Regions from separate parts of the Homo sapiens genome. Here all the other regions are linked to region 1. The links are contacts of gene promoters, found by promoter capture Hi-C in human tissues and cell types (Jung and others, 2019). All regions are on one chromosome and are shown on one strand. Each heading gives the region's core, a stretch centred on a gene start or on the middle of the fragment in contact. The rest is flanking DNA. Distances are from core to core; before and after follow the strand shown. Region 1 holds the start of ITIH2 (inter-alpha-trypsin inhibitor heavy chain 2). Region 2 overlaps ITIH5 (inter-alpha-trypsin inhibitor heavy chain 5). Region 3 overlaps ITIH2 (inter-alpha-trypsin inhibitor heavy chain 2).

Region 1 (3,747 bases), core at 371-2,870:
TAGCCCCCCACCCCCTGACAGGCCCCAGTGTGTGATGTTCCCCTTCCTGTGTCCATGTGTTCTCGTTGTTCGACTCCCACTTATGAGTGAGAACATGCGGTGTTGGGTTTTCCCTTCTTGTGTTACTTTGCTGAGAATGATGATTTCCAAAAGATCTAGAGCCAAAGAGATAGCTGTTGGTATTCATTATTTTATATTCTTTCCTCTACCTCTGGGCAATCACAATTTTGTATAAAATGATTTCTTTAGTATATTTCTATTTGCTGGTTACGTCTCAGAGGTGTCCAAATGGAGGGTAACAACACCTTCGCATTTGTTGGACATGGGAATTCATTTTTGAGTTTGCCAGCAGGTGGTAAGACAGAGATCAAAACAACCCAGTGATTAGGTGGGTGTCTGGGGAAGTATCTGGGTAGACCCTGGAGGCATTTGCAGTGTCTGACTGGACAGACATGAACCATACATCTCCCCAAGTTAAAAATGTAGGTATTTTCTAAAAGGAAATGCCAGTTAGAAATGACTGAAAAAGCACAAACACATTTGGATGTCTTGGCTTCAATTTGAGATTTCTAACACACTCTGGTGGCTTTTAAGTGTTGGAAAATATGATAGTTTCAAAGCAGACAGAGTGATATTTTCCCTTTGTAAATATGCCGTCATATTCTCTGGCATTTTTATAGGTAATCCACTCTGCAAGTATTATAAGCCTTTGCATTTGCTGGGATGTTCCCATAACATGCTTCGCTTTTCTGGCATAAAAATAGCTCTTGTATGACTTTCAGAAACAGACTTTCAGTCCAAGACTTTCCTTACATTGGAGATGGCTAAGGGACAAAAGTGGAGACCTGTACTCCATGGGAATTATTCTTGTACTTTTCCACCCTGCCTGCTATCTTCCGCTTTAATAGGAATACTTAAAGTGCTCTTATTACAAATATCACTGTTCACTTAGATATGAAAAACAGTGTGCTTTGATAATGACTTTTCTTATACTCTTAGTAAAAGAGTGATAATATTTCTTCATCATCATAACAGCTAGTAATTATTAAGCACTTACTAGTCCAGGCGCTCTGCTAGAAGAGTTTACACTGTGTCATTTAATTCTCAAAGCAAACCATTGGGTTAGGTCTATTCTTACCCCCAATTTTTTAGGTGAGGAGTGAGCAGCTCTGCTCCATAAATGCTACGCTCTGATGCCTGCCCATTGATCTTGACTTAATTTTCATGCAAAACCTGTTAATGCTTTAAAAGGTAAATATACATTCCAGTAATTATAACAGTAAACACTTGCACTCAGATGAATTTTATCTTAAGTTTCCATTACACACAGAATAAGGCCATTGAATAGCGATTCCAATAGATGATTTACTGAGCTCATGAACAAGCCAACAGCAAGGAGTGATCTGTAAGTACTTACTTCAGAAAGTCCATTTATGGGGATTTCGAAGCCTGATACTTCAGAAAGAAAGAAGCAGATGAAAAAGCACGTGAGTCTTTTCATTTTGCTGGACAGTTTTGCCAAGCTCCCCAAAGCAGATGGTCTGGGGAGGATATCACTTCTTCCTACTGAACCAAGTTCAAAGGAACAGCAGAGGAGTACAGTTCGCTTTAAGAAAGAAGAAAAAAGAAGAAAAAACTCTCTAACTTTGTTCAAAATTGGGACAAATATTTGTTCTGGAGCTCAAACTTGAGCTGTGTGGGTGGATCGAACACCCAGAGGTTATTCAAACAGCAAAGTCAGAAGCAGTTGCTTACTGTGAGGACAAGTCAGGGGCAGATGGATGTGCTTGAATGTGCTTGTGTGCTTTTATTTTATTTTTATTTTTTATTTTTTGGCTTTTGCTGATTTCTATTGATCTTAAAATCAGAGAGACCTACAGATAATTGTCATCCTTTCTAAAGGACCAAGTGCAGAACTATTCCAAGAAACAAAATCCTTTGATCTAAATGAAAGCAGGAAAAATTTAGAAAAAGTGGGAGAAGACACAGAAGGGTTTTTCTGAGCAAAGAATTCATTGTGCATGTTTTCCCCTATCTCTTTGATGACTGTCTACCTGTTACCTATAAAGACCCAGGCAAGTGGCTGTGCAGGATACTAGGGCAGATCTTCAGTGAGAATGCTTCGTGAATGTCTTTGATTAAGGTAACAGTGTCTGTCCTGCTGCCCCTATCAGCCGGGCTCAGGTCAGTGGCAAATCAATACTCCCCAGTCTCAGAATTGGAGTGCAGTGGTGAGATCAAAGCTCATTGCAGCCTCAACTTCCCCCGGCTCAAGCAATCTGCCCACCTCAGCCTCCAGAGTAGCTGGACTACAGGTGTGCACTACACTGCCTGGCTATTTTTTGTAGAGATGGGATTTCATCATGTTGCTCATCCTGGTCTTGAACACCTGGGCTCAAGCTATCTGCTTGCCTCAGCCTCCGAAACTGCTGGGATTCCAGATGTGAGCCCCCATGCCTAGCCTCCATCCTGGTCAGATTCTATTTTTCTTGCAACAAACAGGAAATGTAACTTCTTGGATGCAACACTGAAATAGGAAGCTCCAGCTGTGGGCAGAATTACAATACAAGGGAGGTTGTCTTATCCTCAGGACCAAGCACCCCAGGCCAACTTCTGGGATCCTGGAGCTCCTTGCTACATTTAAAGCCCAATTCACAGGGCATGCAACAGAGAGTTTTCTGCATTTTCCTCCCTAGTTTCCCCTCAGTCTTCGAAATTGCACAGCCGTGTGTCTGCTGGAGAAACATAACTTCTGAAATAATGGAAGGGAGAAAACAGATTCTCCCCTCCCTTGCCTAGGTTGGACTAGTTGAGCGCCCACCTTGGCCAGTGAGTGCCTCAGTGGACCCCTCATGGAAAAATCCTGCCACAGCTTTGCATTCTTGACTGAGATACTGTTTCTGGAGAATTAAGACCCAATGGCAGCTGGGCGCGGTGGCTCACACTTGTAATCCCAGCACTTTGGGAGACTGAGGCGGGTGGATGACCTGAGGTCAGGAGTTTGAGACCAGCCTGGCCAACATAGTGCAACCCCGTCTCTACTAAAAATACAAAAATTAGCCAGGTGTGGTGGCATGCGCCTGTAATCCCAGCTACTTGGGAGGCTGAGGCATGAGAATTGCTTGAACTGGGGAGGCGGAGGTTAGAGTGAGCTGAGATCACGCCACTGCATTCCACCTGGGCAACAGGGCAAGACTTGGTCTCAAAAGAAAAAAATAAATAAATAATAAAAAACCCAATGGCATGTTCTCCCAAAAACAGCAGTGACTTTCAAAATCATACCTCCTTCCATTGATCATTTCCTTTCTGATTATTTTAATCTGATATTCAGAATTATCTCAGAATAAACCAAACCAAAAGCAGGCTGGACTTTTTTCCATGCTGATACTCTGTCTTCAGATCCCAAAGTCCTTTTTTTTTTTTTTTTTTGAGAGGGAGCGTCACTCTGTGGCTCAGACTCAAGCGCAATGGCATGATCTTGGCTTACTGCAACCTCCACCTCCCAGGTTCACGCGATTCCCCTGCCTGAACCTCCCAAGTAGCTGGAATTACGGGCGTGCACCACCACAACTAACTTTGTATTATTTTTTTTAAAGTAAAGATGGGGTTTCACCATATTGGTCAGGCTGGTCTCAAACTCCTGACCTCGAGTAATCCACCTGCCTCAGCCTCCCAAAGTGTTGGGATTATAGGCGTGAGCCACTGTGCTCAGCCTGATCCCAAATTCTTGAAAACAAAACAAAACAA
Region 2 (3,747 bases), core at 539-3,038, 51 kb after region 1:
AGATTTTTTCACCCTGTACACAATCCTTCAAAAAACACTTTCATTTCTTCTTTTATGTGGGTATTTTTAATTCTACGACTTACAATTCAAACTGCATATACATTTTAAATTTTGCCAGGCTCGATGGCTCACGCCTGTAATCTCAGCAGTTTGGGAGGCTGAGGGGGGTGAATCACCTGAGGTCTGGAGTTCAAGACCAGCCTGGCTAACATGGTGAAACCCCATCTCTACTAAAAAATACAAAAATTTGCCAAGCGTGGTGGTGTATGCCTGTAATCCCAGCTACTCGGGAGGCTGAGGCGGGAGGATTGCTTGAACCCAGGAGGCATAGGTTGCAGTGAGCTGAGATTGCACCACTGCACTCTAGCTTGGGCAACAGAGCAAGACTCTGTCTCAAAAACAACCTTTTTTTTGATAGATGTCAGATTAATTTTTGAATACTATTACTCTTAACACTATCTGTATTCATACCATGTCTATCAGCAATGATGAATACACACATTTCTGCCAGCAACTGATATAATTACTCTTTTAAATTTGCCAATCTCTTACTTAGGAAGTGATATCTCATTGTTCCTTTAACTTGCATTTCCCTGCCTATGTACGAATTTGGAATTTTTTTCTTTTATTGCTCAAACCATTCTCCATAACAAGGATTTGGACATTTTAAATTATATTTGTTAGCCATTCAGAGTCGTTCTCCTGTGAATTGCTTTTTTTTTTCCAGGTCCTTTGCCCATCTTTCTATTGTGTTTTTTATCCACCTCATTGTCAATTTATCAGAGACCTTTGTATGTGATAGATACCTTCTGTCTTCTAAACTGGAAGAATGCCTCTCTGAATCTATCATTTATTAACTTTCTTTCTGGTATGTTTGCCACATAAAAGTGCTCAGTTCCTAAGTAATAAGTAGTTTATGTTTTCCTTTCAAAGGAAAGGAAAAAGAGGCTTTGTACACGTAGCCTCTAAGGGTACAAAGATTTTCTTGACTCCTTAGCTTAGACCATTTATATAACCTCTTAGATTTTCTTAGAAATTTCTTAGAATTTTGAAAGTCTTACTTTTACAACTATCATAAATTTTTAACATGAACTTTACTGACCATCCAGTTGGTACTAGAATGATTTTTCCAGTGGTAGACCTGGCGCATCACTCTCTTGCGTGCATGTCTTCAGTGACTCCACATCACCCGTGGGATAAGCTCCAAGGATGTGTGAAACCCTGCGTGATGCGCCTCCTGCTTGCCTCTGGAGCTCAGTTCATCCTATGAGTCTCCTTCTAGCCTGCATTCTTGCCATCTCCCTCCAGTTGTCATCCTCTGAATGTTCCGTGCTTGAATTAATGAATAGAATGTGGATGGCAACAGCTGGTACTCCCGTAACACTGCCAGGACCACAGGAATTTGTTTGATTTTATTCTGAATTAATTAGATACCCTTTTTATGAAGCTCCCTGGCATACATACACACAAAATATTTACTCTTTGGAAAGCAGGGGGATCTTTGTGTGTGAATTTCCATGGTGCTGAATGGATCCTGGCCTGGGTTTCCCAAGAGGATTCGCTGCCATCATTTAACCTCCTGACTGCAGGGTCTGTCTTGGTGTCTGCTTTGCAGCAGGTGTTCTACAGTTTGTGCTCAGGGTTTGTTTCTATTGAGTGTGGTAAGATACACAGACAGAGAAATGACTGACATGAAGGAGGAATTTCATACTCACAGATCCCTGGAGGCAGGGGCAGCAGCATACCATGCCAGGACACATGGGGAAGCACCATGGTGGGTCAGGGGCAGAAGGTGCAGAGGACAGTGTGTGTCTCAGAGCCTGCATTGGGGTTTTCATGGGAAGGAATGGGCAAGGCAGGGTAGTAGGTAGGCTGAGGAGGTTTAGGATTGGCTGTAGGGTTGGTCTCTAGTTGTCAGGTACCTGGTCCTGGGGAGATTTAGGGTAGGGGGAGTATTGGCTTGGCGCATGAGTTTTATTTATTATTATTGTTATTATTATTATTATTATTTTGAGACAGAGTCTCACTCTGTGGCCCAGGCTGGAGCCCAGTGGTGCGATCTCGGCTCACTGCAACCTCCACTTCCTGGGTTCAAGTGAGTCTTGCGCCTCAGTCTCCCGAGCACCTGGGATTAGAGGCCTCCCGAGTACCTGGGATTACAGGCATGCATCATCGCGCTCGGCTAATTTTCGTATTTTTAGTAAAGATGGGTTTCGCCATGTTGGCCAGGCTGGTCTTAAACTCCTGACCTCAGGTGATCCGCCTGCCCTGCCCTCCCAAAGTGCTGGGATTACAGGCGTGAGCCACCGTGCCCAGCCGAGGTGCATGAGTTTGATATGGGAGATGGTTGGATGTGTGGCTATGGATTGGTCGGTTTATATATCAAAGGTATGCTTGCAGCAGGGTTGTCTGCTGTTCCTAGGAACAAGCCAGCCCTGGGAGGGACGGTCTTTCCAGGATCAAAGCCCCAAATGCCAGAGCATCAAGAATATAGAAAACAAGAAAATACAGTCAATACAGCAGGTAGCATGACTCTGGGCATCATACCTCATTGAGGACCAGTCATATGTGTGTCTGTGCCTGTGCCCAACTCTGACCATTGTGTGCATCCTGTTCAGGAAGTGTATAGAATGGGGCGGGGGAGGGGGAGGGTTTTCTTGTATAAAAATAAAAATGGCATTTTGTTTTCCTTCTCCCCTAAATATAATGAAACATCACTACGTAGACTGTATTAGCACAAGTAGGTGATTCAGAACCGATGCCATTTCCTGTCTACAGAGGGGTAAAATGATTTCCCCGAGGTGGTAAATCTAGCAGTTGGGGAAGTGCCTTTTTCTCCTGTTTCATTCAATAACAACATGGGCTGTATTTTTTTTTTTTTTTGAGATGGAGTTTTGCTCTTGTCACCCAGGCTGGAGTGCAATGGCATTATCTTGGCTCACTGCAACCTCCTCTTCCCGGGTTCAAGTGATTCTCCTGCCTTAGCCTCCTGAGTAGCTGGGATTATGGGCACCCATCATCACACCTGGCTAATTTTTTGCATTTTTAATAGAGACGGGGTTTCACCATGTTGGCCAGGCTGGTCTCAAACTCCTGATCTCAGGTGATCCACCAGCTTTGACCCCCAAAGTGCTGGGATTACAGGCATGAGCCACCACGCCCGGCCCTGTATTGTTTTTCTCAGAAAGGAGAAGCATTAAGGGTTAGTAGAGATTTGGTGCGTGGAGTCAGCCAACTGCCACGCTCCAGCCTTCTCTCTAAAACAAAGGGGAGCAGAGTTAGATGATTTCTAAAGTTCTCTCCCACCTCCATAATGACTTCTCATGGTTGCTAAAGACTGGTTAGACTGAAAGAAAATAATGAAAGGTTAATCTTCTAGGAAGAGGCACTGTGGCCTGAGTGCTGGCAAAGGCCGTCCCAACCATTTCTCCACCACATTTCCAGATGGCATCTTGGGTGACTCAGGACATCCTCGGGTGGCTTGATTTTAAGTGCCTCACATGAGTCATACCCAAAGCTTGGGTCCCTTGAGCAATTAAGACACTCCCTGCCTCAAATGACTTTTCCATCTGTGTTGCCTTTGTAGGAAAAAATAATGAAGAAATTATCTTATGTCACAGGAAGATTTTTTTTACCACTATTTTCCAGCGGACATCCCAAAACAAAGTTATGACTTAAATAGAAATATGGAAAGCATGTTGGATTTTTAAGAACCGTGCACTGGGAAAAAGTGAGGCCACTGTTTTA
Region 3 (3,747 bases), core at 599-3,098, 34 kb before region 1:
TTTGAATGTTGAAATTTACTTTTTTCTAATCAAAAGGAAAGTAAGGAAAGAAAAGCTGCACACAGGTTTTCTAGATGAACTAGCTAACTGCCAGCAGCTGTGATCTCTGTGGGTGAAGGCTGCAACGCAAGGAGCTGGGAACAGGAGAGGAGACGCTCTCCCTCCCATTTCCCCGGGGCAGCTCCCCGTCTCACATGCTGTGGGAGAAGATGCCAGAGAGGTTGTCAATGGAAAGGCAAAGAAATTGACAACGGAGGGCAAAGAAGTCTGCGACTACACAAGGAAGCCACAGCCACCAAAACTCTCACAAAGAAATACATTTTCCTGGCATGACCACAGCTACTACCCAAACCTCCCACTGAAACTGTTTGCAGAAAGGTTTTTTTAAAGACTGAACAAAACTAGGATTCTGTAAATACATGATTAAAAACAAACAAAATAAGCTGTATTTCTATAGAAAAACAGGTGATCTGCCTGCCTTGGCCTCCCAAAGTGCTGCGATTACAGGCGTGAGCCGCTGCACCTGGCCTCATGCACACAATGCTTCCCAGGATTATGGTCGGCTGAGTTCTGGGACGTGCAAGCAGTGTAGAAGCGTTACCTCTCATCACATGTGGGGGTGGCGTGGACTCTAGCACCTGAGATCCTTGTGCCAGCATGGAGATCACGGGCGTTGGTGAAGGATTGGCCCAAGACGGGGTGGAATCTGGAACCACTTTGCTGCCGTAATACAGGGCCCCTGCGTAGACAAACCTGCATCTGTTAGTTTCTAGATTTACGTTTCCACGGAAATTGCTCACCATGTCAAGAATCTGTTTTATGCACCCCCAGGTATTGTCAGCTTAGGTTTTTCTCCTCTGTTTTTATTCCAGAGTTCTCTCGGGCTCCCTCTGTCATGTTGCTGAGGGAGGAGGCCTGTGATACAGTTCTCTCTGGAGTCTGGAACCTGAGCAAGGGTGGCAGTGGGAGGAACCGCTTTATAGGGCCGGGGAAGGGCCCCGTGACTCCAGTGCAGGCCGGGGAGCGAAGTCTGGGAGAAGGCCCAGAATATAATATATAATATTATATAGAATATAATATATAATATTATATAGAATATAATATATAATATTATATAGAATATAATATATAATATTATATAGAATATAATATATAATATTTTATAGAATATAATATATAATATATAGAATATAATATATAATATATAGAATATAATATATAATATATAGAATATAATATATAATATATAGAATATAATATATAATATATAGAATATAATATATAATATATAGAATATAATATATAATATATAGAATATAATATATAATATATAGAATATAATATATAATATATAGAATATAATATATAATATATAGAATATAATATATAATATATAGAATATAATATATAATATATAGAATATAATATATAATATATAGAATATAATATATAATATATAGAATATAATATATAATATATAGAATATAATATATAATATATAGAATATAATATATAATATATAGAATATAATATAGAATATTATATAGAATATAATATAGAATATTATATAGAATATAATATAGAATATTATATAGAATATAATATAGAATATTATATAGAATATAATATAGAATATTATATAGAATATAATATAGAATATTATATAGAATATAATATAGAAAATATAGAATATAATATAGAATATAATATAGAATATTCTATAGAATATAGAATATAATATAGAATATTCTATAGAATATAGAATATAATATAGAATATAGAATTTAATATATAATATTATATAGAATACATAATATATATTATATAGAATACATAGTATATAATATATAGAATACAAAATATATATAATTATATATTACAGATAATATAATTATAATTATACGTTATCTGTTATATATATATATACACGTGTATATATATATATATATATATGAGATATATACACGTGTGTGTATATATCATATATGTATATATGTTTCGGTAGAACCAGTCCCCAAGAAAGAGAAAAGAAAGAGACGTATAAACCTGAGGTCTCCTAGCCCTGGGTGTGTGCACCCTCGGGGGTGCCTGGATACTTTCTGCAGGACTCAGAGAGCATGGACTGTTTGAAAGGCAATTTCTAGAGTCTCAGTTTAGACACAGACTCGTTCCTAAAGAAAGCCTTTTCTCCTAGTTTACAAGCAGAAGGCCAGTTCTTGTCTACTCCCCTCCCCCAGAGTCCTCCAGGAAGCAAAACATCCATTGGAATACTGGTGTAGGGCAAGAAACCTGATTCCAATGATTGGGAGCAAGTGCTTGTACAAACCACAGGGCTTCCAATTCTTTGCTTTCAACAAAATTGAAGAAGGGCTCACATTGTCAGCTGATAAATTATACAAAATTTTTTGGACGCTAGGTCTGTATGCATGTTTTGGCATATAATATGAAAGAGTTCAGATAAGCGAGTAACTGAATATAACCAGACACTTGCCATTTCTATCCACTTGTCTATACCAACCAATATTTATCAGGACTTCTGCCCATACAAGTTCTCTTAAAAGTAGAATTGATGCCGAATCCTGTCTCTTTCAATCCATTCGTAAATAATACTTACCCATGAATACATGAAAAACAGTCACATTTTTCCCAGTAAGAGATTATAGATTATTTCCACTCCAGTTTTACTTCTTATTTGTAAACAAATTTATAATCTATTTATATTATTTTGCTCACTTGGCTACTAGTAGTAATATTAATCAGACCAGGTTCAGAAGGGAATTTTGAATACTCAGAATCTTATGGTTATGATTTTTAAATTAAATTCTTAATTAAAATTAAAATGTATAAACTTTTTTTCTTATAGATAAGTGAGGTGATTACTAAAATAAGCATAAAAATATATTACAATAGGATATAGTTCTGCTGGGCAAGTGGAGTGGAAATACAAGTTCAACTAGAAAAAAGAATAATATAAAACTTCCAATAATTTTTTTTCGAGACAAGGTCTTATTCTGTTACTCAGGCTGGAGTGCAGTGGTGTGATTGGCTCACTGCAACCTTCACCTTCCAGGCTCAAGCAATCCTCCCGCCTCAGCCTCCTGAGTATTTGGGACTATGGGCATGTGCCACCATGGCTGGCTAATTTTAGTATTTTTTTCTAAAGATGGGGTTTTGCTATGTTGACCAGGCTCGTCTCATGTTCATAGGCTCAAGCAATTAACCCACTCCAGCCTCCCAAAGTGCTGGGATTATAGGCATGAGCCACCATGACTGGCCAGGTTCTAGTAATTGTAATATAGGATTTGCTTATGTATTTTTTAAAAATGAGTGATAGTGAGTAACCAATTAAGTATTCTGTTTTATTAGATGTATTGAAAACAGTGATATGGTCAGGCACGGTGGCTCACGCCTGTAACCCCAGCACTTTGGGAGGCCAAGGCAAGTGGATCGCCTGAGGTCAGGAGTTCGAGACCAGCCTGGCCAACATGGTAAAACCCCGTCTCTACTAAAATACAAAAAATTAGCTGGGCGTGGTGGCACATGCCTGTAATCCCAGCTACTTGGGAGGCTGAAGCAGGAGAATTGCTTGAACCTGGGAGGCTGAGGTTGCAGGGAGCTGAGATCGTGCCATTGTGCTCCAGCCTGGTAAACAGAGCAAGACTCTGTCTCAAAAAAAAAAAAAAAAGAAAAGAAAAGAAAAGAAAAGAAAAAGAAAACAGTGATGTGACAGTTTTATTTTAAAAGGTC

The links. Contacts are between HindIII fragments. The study calls those that stand out against the background at their distance.
Region 2: a contact is called between a fragment that was not itself captured here and the fragment with the promoter of ITIH2 in region 1, in 2 of the 25 tissues and cell types used here (aorta and stomach).
Region 3: a fragment that was not itself captured here is called in contact with the fragment with the promoter of ITIH2 in region 1 in 4 of the 25 tissues and cell types used here (neural progenitor cells, spleen, stomach and 1 more).

What each region holds. Positions count from the first base shown.
Region 1 is chr10:7,701,189-7,704,935 of GRCh38, reverse strand. ITIH2 (inter-alpha-trypsin inhibitor heavy chain 2) reads right to left here and starts at 1,620. Exons shown (of 21, transcript NM_002216.3): 1 at 1,418-1,620. The coding sequence starts at 1,501. The HindIII fragment of the contact is 26,123 bases long and covers 1-3,747 here.
Region 2 is chr10:7,649,873-7,653,619 of GRCh38, reverse strand. All of the region lies in intron 2 of ITIH5 (inter-alpha-trypsin inhibitor heavy chain 5), which reads left to right. Among named protein-coding and RNA genes, the nearest start is that of ITIH5, 15 kb to the left of the region's middle. The HindIII fragment of the contact is 9,278 bases long and covers 1-3,747 here.
Region 3 is chr10:7,735,613-7,739,359 of GRCh38, reverse strand. It overlaps ITIH2 (inter-alpha-trypsin inhibitor heavy chain 2), which reads right to left. Exons shown (of 21, transcript NM_002216.3): 16 at 602-739. Among named protein-coding and RNA genes, the nearest start is that of ITIH2, 34 kb to the right of the region's middle. The HindIII fragment of the contact is 7,154 bases long and covers 1-3,747 here.